Regions from separate parts of the Homo sapiens genome. Here all the other regions are linked to region 2. The links are contacts of gene promoters, found by promoter capture Hi-C in blood cells and fetal thymus (Javierre and others, 2016). All regions are on one chromosome and are shown on one strand. The core of a region is centred on a gene start or on the middle of the fragment in contact, and the rest is flanking DNA. Distances in the headings are between cores, read along the strand shown. Region 1 has its middle 35 kb from the start of LINC03004. Region 2 holds the start of PEX7 (peroxisomal biogenesis factor 7). Region 3 has its middle 14 kb from the start of LINC03004.

Region 1 (2,721 bases), core at 76-2,575, 810 kb before region 2:
GTAGAGTACATGCCTGTGTGTCTTTTATTTTTCACTTATGTTTAATTAGATCTGAGAACAGGCTTACTGCTAAAGCTTAAATAATTAACTAGCATTTATTTGTAAAAGATAGATGGCCATAACATCATCTAGCAAAGTGGAGAAAATATAACTGGATTCTGTCTCTATCAAGAACATCCAGAAAGAGAGAGAGGTAACCTGGAAACTCTGTCAGAGGATAGTTCTTAGTCAAGGTAATCGCACAATACAACCTCTGCTTTACCATATAAGGAAATTAAACTTCTGGCTCCAGTTGCTGCCAGAAGTACTGACTATGGTAACTCCTGCTGTACAGCTCTGGCTCATCAGACCCTGCAACTCCAGCTTCCTTCCAGCCCTAAGGTGGTAGCAGCTTGCTGCTATTGTATTGCTAAGCACTGGGTTGTTTCTCGCTGCTCCTTATTTGGCTTCTCAGCTTTCCCATTATTGGTGAAACCAATTCCCTGTAACAAACTTTCTCATTGTGAAATATCTATGATGGTTTCTGGTTTTGTTTTTGTTTTCTTCCCAGTGGGTATCTGAATGCTATAGAGAGAATAAGAGAACTCTATACACACTTTAGAAATGAGAAAGAGAAAGTCCTATTTCTATCTTCCTATTTTAACATTGTTTAGGCTATTATTTCGTTATTTTGTGTCTTTCTTAATAGGTAGCTTTATGAAGCAAGCAATACATCAGCAAACAGATCTTGAGCACTTCCTTTCTATAGTGTACTTTAGTCATCTCTAAAAAATAATCTGATAGAACTGTTGCTTTCAGCTCACTATCACAGCAAACAATTGCAGCTCACCCTGATAAAGATAGCTGCAAATGGAATTTCCTGGACTCCACCTGTCTTCTGAGGCTTTCAGCTGTCTATGCCATATCCTCTCACATCCAGACACAAGAGTAGAGGCTGGAGCATTGTCACAGCACCTTAGGACCTTCCACGTCCTGCCTAAGTATTTCACTGACCACTGTGAGCCCAGGAATTGCCAAGGGAGCAAGTCCAACCACAGCTGCAGCAGAGTGCACTGACAGGGCAGGCCCATAATGGGCACTTGCCCATCTGTTGTGCAGTTAGTTTTTGGCCTTTTTAATAGAGTAGTGTTAGAAACATTGTAACAACTGAACATCCACACCTAAGGGGTCAGAGATGGCCTCATTAATAGGGGACCCTAAGGCAGCCCTTACTTGAAACTCTCCAAGAGAGATATACGTGTATTTTCTGTCCTTCAGAAAATGCAATTTTTTTCTGGACACATTTCTAATGATTTCACTTAATAACCACGTTTTATGTAGCTTTGAATTACTAGAGCTATCTAGTTATTATGAACCACAGGATACGATGTCAGAATCTCAAAGCACAAGAGAAATAGGACTAACTAACTTATACAAAGTAATTTGGAATTTGCAAAGTACTTTCACACTCATTAGCTCAATTTTTTTTTTTGAGATGTAGCCTTGCTCTGTTGCCCAGGCTGGTGTGCAGTGGTGCGGTCTCAGCTCACTGCAGCCTCTGCCTCCCGGGTTCAAGTGATTCTCCTGCCTAGCCTCCCGAGTAGCTGGGACTACAGGTGTGCACTGCCGTGCCTGGATACATTTGCTTTTGTAATTTTGGTAGAGACAGGGTTTCACCATGTTGGCCAGGCTGGTCTCAAACTCCTGACCCCAAGTGATCTGCCCGCCTCAGCCTCCCAAAGTGCTAGGCATAAGGTACCGCACCTGGCCCATTAGCTCAATCTCGCTGATGGTTTTGGACATTGTTCTGGCAAAAAAAGATGAGGCCTAGAAGTGCTACCTCAAACAAATGATTTCAGAATTAAAATGAGGCAATATTTTAAGTACTTTCTACTCCTGCATGGGCAAAGTCATTTTTTTTGATACAAATATTTTCTGTCTTTTGGAGAACCCTCTATAGCAGTGGCTCCCAACCTTTTTGGCACCAGGGAGTAGTATCGTGGAAGACAATTTTTCCGTGGAAGTGGGTTTGGGGAGGGGATGGTTTTGGGGTGAAACTGTTCCCACCTCAGATCGCCAGGCACTAGATTCTTATAAGTAGCCGGCAACCTAGATCCGCCGTTCACAATAGGGTTCATGCTCCTATGAGAATCCAATGGCCCCACTGATCTGACTGGAGGCGTGGAGCACAGGCGGTAATGCTCACCCACCCACGGCTCACCTCTTGCTGTGAGGCCTGTTCCTGACAGGCCACAGACCAGTATGGATCCATGGTCCCGGGGGTTGAGGACCCTTGCTCTGTAGCATACATTTGAGATCTCGTCTTATTCTAATTGTTGCAAGCAATACAACATCAGAATTTCTGGTTATGGAGTCTTGGGCCTCTTTTTACTGATTTGGAAGGAAATTTTCAAAATTTGCCTAGTTAAGCAGTTGACTCCTTTTGCTTTAGTGAGCTCAGTCTTATTATATCCAGTGTTCTTGCTATATCTCTTGATAATGAGGCTTTATACATATATATATATACACACACACACACAATCATACATACGTGTATAATGATACCTGTATATATGTATAATAATAATGAAGCTTTGTATATAAAGCCTTATCATATAAAGCCTGTGTGTGTGTATATATGTGTGTGTATATATATATATACACACATACACATACATATATATATATACACATACACATACATATATATATACACACATACTGACAGGCCACAGACCATAT
Region 2 (2,833 bases), core at 334-2,833:
AGACTCATGAGTCTTCAGTCTAACTGGTGGGCCATGTAAATCTGAATGTGCAAGCACTAAGAGCTAATAATGAAAATAAATCAAGTATTTCTCTGAGTTTTAGAAGTAACATTTTTTTCTGCTGTAGGACAAAACAAAAAAATACAATAGACCACTGACATTATGAAATGAGTTTTTGCATCTCGCTTCAGTGCGTATAATAGCTAGGACATGAATTAAGGCAAAAGCGAGAATGAACCTACGCCTTTTCATCTAGTCCACGGACTAGATGGACTCTTTTTTTTGAGACGGAGTTTTGCTCTTCTTGCCCAGGCTGGAGTGCAATGGCACGATCTCGGCTCACCGCAACCTCTGCCTCCTGGGTTCAAACTATTCTCTTACCTCAGCCTCCCGAGTAGCTGGGATTACAGGCATGCGCCACCACGCCCGGCTAATTTTGTATTTTCAGTAGAGATGGGGTTTCTCCATGTTGGTCAGGCTGGTCTGGAACTCCCGAACTCAAGTGATCCGCCCACCTCGGCCTCCCAAAGTGCTGGGATTACAGACGTGAGCCACCGCACGGCGCTTGGCCTTTTTTCTTTTTAAGACGGGGTCTCAGTCTGTCACCCAGGCTGGAGTGGAGTGATGTGATCTCAGCTCACTGGGCTGGGGCAGAGTGATGTGATCTCAGCTCATTGTAGCCTCAACATCCCGGGCTCAAGCGATCCTCCCGCCTCAGCCTCCTGAGCAGCTTTAACCACAGGCTGAGCCAATGCGCGCGACGGGAGACAATTAACTGGAGTCTGTAACACCTACTTGCGAATGTGTGCATTCCTCGTTAGACAACTACAGGTAAGAACTGAACTTGATATATTTCATGGTGTCACCCGTGGGACTCCAGGCGTCCATTCAGGAGCATCGTCCTTAGGAAGGCCAGCCCGCAGGTCGCAGCTCAGTGCTCGAATGCAGACTGGGAATTGTGGGCCAACTCGCGAGCCCTGGGTCGGTTCTGGCTCAGACCGTCTTCCCCGTACTGCTGTGCCGAGCGGACCGATCCAAGGGACCGCGCAGGCTCCCCCGGCTCTCCCTACGGGGACGTGTGCCTGGGCGTGTGACACGTGGCGGAGGCAGCGCGGTCTCAAGGAACAAGGACACGGGCTACTAGGCTACACGTATATGCACTTGCACACAACTGGAAGATCGACTCCTGCTTCAGACCAACTCCTCGCACTCGGCAAAGAAAGGAGAAGCGCCGACCAGCGCCTCTTCTGCCCCCTGGCGTGGACCCGCGGAACCGTCTACGCTCAGAGGGGCTTTCCCTCGAGCGCGAGGAACTGGAGCCCGGCTGGCCCCCGCCTCCGCCTCCGCCCCCCGGCCCCAGCTGCGCGGCGCCGCCTCACCCGCGATGCCGTAGTGCTGCGCGGTGGCGCAGGCCAGGCGGCCCGGCAGGTACGGGGAGAACTCGGCGGCGTAGCCGTGGCGTCCCGGCGTCCGCAGCATCCGCGCCGCTCCACCGCACACCGCACTCATCCCGCCCGCCGCCCCCGGCCCTCGCTGCCCCGGCCGCGGAAGCCGTTCCGAGTCGGAGGCACACTGGCGCGGTTAGAGAGACCAGGCAGACCGGACGGAAGTGTGGGCCCCGTGCCCTGTGTTTGAGATTCTGATTGGTCCGCACAGGAAAGGGCGTTGACTCCGACGGAGACCATTTTTGTTTTGGGTGAATCCAAACTGAATTGCGCCTGCTGCAAAGATACAGATCTATCAGGGGAGTGATCCAGGGTTAGGTATTATTAATAATTACGACAGCTTTTGTCGTTGCATCTCAGCCTCCTCTGCGGTGCTATCTGGTTTTTATTTCATTGAGCGTTTGGAAGACTGGCATCAGGAACTTTTCCTGATGATTATAAAGTGAGAAAAGTTACAGCCGACTCTGAAACCACGCAGCGCGTCCAAAATTGCGTGCTGCGTTGCCCAAGGAAACTGGAAGCAATGAGAACTTAAGTCCGTGGAGTCACTGCGGTCTTTAGGAATAAGAGCGTGGGCTGGTGGGCTACTTTCACACTGTAACTGGAAAAGATGAAACACCAACTCCAAACCAACTCCCCATGCTTGGCAAGTGAGAAAAAGGAGCTGGCCAGTTCTAATGAAGCTAAGCAAAAAAGCAGCACATCATCATATACAACTTTTTTAAAAAGTATTACTATACATGTATATATTGTATGGTAATAAGTGCTCAGATGCTGGTGCTCATTCATTCATTTATTGCCAGGCATATACTATGTGGAGAATGACCAAATATAATTTATCTGCCAAACCAAGATACTTTTGAGAGTAAAGAGGGTGTAATTATTAAGCCAGGTCAACAGGCACAAACCAAGTCGTATGATCATCTTAACCATATACCAAGAACAGTACTAGGCATTTGGGATTCAAAATAATGGGATATGGTCCATGGCCTCAAGAGATTAGAGAAGAAGACTAAAAGAGAAGTCATGTAATTAGTTAAGTGTAATCAAAATACTGTAGAGGCTATGATAAATTTATATGGGGTATTTTTAAAAGGTGATTGTCCGTGCCAGAGGTATGGAAATTGCAGGAAAGGCTGCAGAAGAGAGATAAGTCTTTATGGTGATTGCACACAGATGAGTAGGTTTTCTTTAGGTAGACAAGAAGATGGAGATCTTTGTAGGAGCAGGAATAACATGAGCAACCCAGGAGATTTAAACCAGCATGATCCATAGGGGGTCGTGGCTGCCAGGACTCAGCCTGGCCAGATGGAAGGGATACGGTGAAAAAAATATTGGGTGGGGAGACTGTAGAGTGTTTTACTGGGGCTAGATCATGAAGAGTCTTA
Region 3 (2,706 bases), core at 38-2,537, 830 kb before region 2:
GAAGCGAATGTGAGAGGTTTTGAGTCCCCATTTCACTCACCCCTTCTCAAGCCCTATGTTCTGGGCACCAAAGCTGTTGTAGGACTTTTTCCTTAGTTGAGCTAAAGACAGCGTCCTTGCCACATGACCAAGAAAAATTAATCTCACAGACAGTTTGAAGGGTGAGGAGGGTAGTGTTTTATTGGGTGAAAAGGAAAAAAACTCAGCAAAGTGAGAGAGGCTCCCCATCTCACAGACTGAGTCCCCAGGTTATCACACTGGATCAGGAGAGGCCAGCCAGGCTCTTCCTCCCCTGCAAATGGCGCAAACTTCCTGAGGCTCCGCCCCAGTGCACACTCCTCACAGTGCACAGGCCAGTTGGAATTTCTCCGGGGACCCCTTTATACTTGGCTGTCTTGGTGAGTCACTTTGTAGGCCAAATAACTGAAAGGTCTTCAATCAATACAAAGACTTGAGATAGTAAATATAAAGCTTCAGGCAGATTATTTCAGTAGATTGTGGCTTCTGCTCTCCAAATATAAGGTTAGAGGGTCATATGGCATGATGAACAAAGCCCCTTCTAGGTAAAACACACTGTCAGTCAGTGCCAGCATTGCCCACAGAATTCCTGTCCCTATCTCTCTGCCATCCCACACCACGCCACATCATCCTTGGCCTATTCTCCCCTACAGGACTTTGCATGTGGCATGCAGACAGTCTCCCTTTTCATTTGTTTTCTAAGGCATTATGTGATCACCCAGAGAAGGAGTAAGCTTCATTCAGGTTCCTGTCCTTCTACTTTGGGCCCCAGAATCTGGTCTGCTGTCCATGGATTCAGGGAGTGACAAGGGGATAATGCCTGCTAAGACATTCTCATCTTCAGTTGAGGTGTCCTTTTTTTTTCATTTAAGAATTTTTTTTTATTGAAGTGCAGAAAGTTGCACATATTCGTTGCATACCACTCAACAAATTTTAATCAACTGACCCATCACCTGATTAAGCAATAGACAATTACCTGTACCTGGCAACTCCCTACCTGCTCTTTCAAACCTTCCCCACCCCCGCAACAAAGGTCAGCACTACCTGTGTTGTAACCGAGCGAGTTATAGAGAAACACCACACTTTGAGACTAATTCAGGAGTCCTTTATTGCCGGGGACCGAGAGACGACTAGAGCTCAAAAATTCTCTCAGCCCCGAAGAAGGGGCTAGATTTCTTTTTATACCTTGGTCTAAATAGGGGAGGGGGAGTCTAGCTGAAGCAATTTTTACAAAAGCAGAACAGGCAAAAAGTAAAAGATAAATGGTTACAGAAACTGTTACAGGAAAATAAAAAGTTCCAGGTGCAGGGGCTTAAGCTATCACAAAGTGATAAACGCAGGGGCTTTGGGTACCATCAACCAAGCACGTTTCCAGGAGTGGGTAGTACAGCTTGCCTCAGTATCTTATCAGTAAGCAATTCCTGGATGTACTTGGAGTTAGCTTGCACCAGTTATGTCCTTAAGCAGGGGGAACGAGGGGCTGCAAGCGAAGAAACCAAAGTGGAGTCTGTCCTGCTCTCTCAGATAAGAGAGAGTCAATCAGGTTAAAACAAGGTAGGGTATCACACCTGGACTTCTCCCAGCACAGATTTGTTTGATCTGCTTTTGAACTTTGTATAAATGGACTCAGACAGCTTACATGTTTTTGTGTCTTGCTTCTTTTTTCAACAATATGATTGTGAGATTTATCCATCTGTTGCATACAGTAGTAAATTGTTTATTCTCATTGCTGGATCATATTCCATTTGATTAATATTTCTGATTACTTTATTCCTTCCACTATTAATGTCAATGGGAAGCTTCCAGTTCAGGTCTATTACAAATAGCACTGCTATAAATAAATACTCCTCTTTTTAGGTGATCACATGTTCCTATTTCTGTTGGGTGAGCACCTAGGAATAGAATTGCTAGGTCATAGGCTATGCATAAGTTCAGCTTTAGTAAATATTGTTTGTTTTTTCACTTCTTTCTCCTCCTCCTTCTCCCTTTTCTTCCTTAAGCATCTTTTTGACAACAACAACAACAAAAAAAACCCATGCATGCTGGCCTCATAGCCTCATGTTTATAGATAAACTGCCACCAGCTTGATTGCCGAAATTAGCCAGCCTCAGGCTATTCTCCTGCCGTTTTGAAAAGGCCAGCTCCTTTTCACTCTCTCATCCTGCAGGGTAAAGTGGCCATCAGCCTTGTACATATTTCATGTTAGCTTAAGGGTCTCTATTGCTGATCCTGAACTTTGCAGAGACAAAATTCTGCTAAAAGATAGATGGATAGAGAGAGAGAGACAGAGATGATAGATAGACAGGTAGATAGATAGATAGATAGATAGATAGATAGATAGATAGATAGAATATATAATCTATAAATTATATATACTGTTATATATGTGTATATATACACATGTATATATACACTTATGTATACACACCTAGATAGGTAGATAGAATATATATCTATATATTATACTAGAATATGTACTAAGTTATATATGTATATATACCTATGTATACACACATAGATAGAATATATAATCTATATATTACATATACTAAATTATATATGTGTATATATACACGTGTATATATGCATATGTAAACACACATAGGTAGAGAGATAGATAATAGGTATAATATATATCTATATATTATAACATATACTAAGTTATGTATATGTGTTTGTGTGCATATA

The links. Contacts are between HindIII fragments. The CHiCAGO score rates a contact against its expected background, and 5 or more counts as called.
Region 1: a contact is called between a fragment that was not itself captured here and the fragment with the promoter of PEX7 in region 2, in 1 of 17 cell types (M2 macrophages). The highest score is 5.4, in M2 macrophages.
Region 3: a contact is called between a fragment that was not itself captured here and the fragment with the promoter of PEX7 in region 2, in 3 of 17 cell types (M2 macrophages, naive B cells and total B cells). The highest score is 5.5, in M2 macrophages.

The regions. Positions count from the first base shown.
Region 1 is chr6:137,629,115-137,631,835 of GRCh38, reverse strand. No RefSeq gene overlaps it. Among named protein-coding and RNA genes, the nearest start is that of LINC03004, 35 kb to the left of the region's middle. The HindIII fragment of the contact is 2,496 bases long and covers 78-2,573 here.
Region 2 is chr6:136,821,342-136,824,174 of GRCh38, reverse strand. It overlaps PEX7 (peroxisomal biogenesis factor 7), which reads right to left and starts at 1,583. Exons shown (of 10, transcript NM_000288.4): 1 at 1,380-1,583. The coding sequence starts at 1,509. RefSeq lists enhancers at 973-1,132, 514-1,246, 1,247-1,979, 1,863-2,012 and a silencer at 1,303-1,682. The HindIII fragment of the contact is 4,798 bases long and covers 1-2,833 here.
Region 3 is chr6:137,650,102-137,652,807 of GRCh38, reverse strand. No RefSeq gene overlaps it. Among named protein-coding and RNA genes, the nearest start is that of LINC03004, 14 kb to the left of the region's middle. RefSeq lists an enhancer at 1,913-2,082. The HindIII fragment of the contact is 1,065 bases long and covers 755-1,819 here.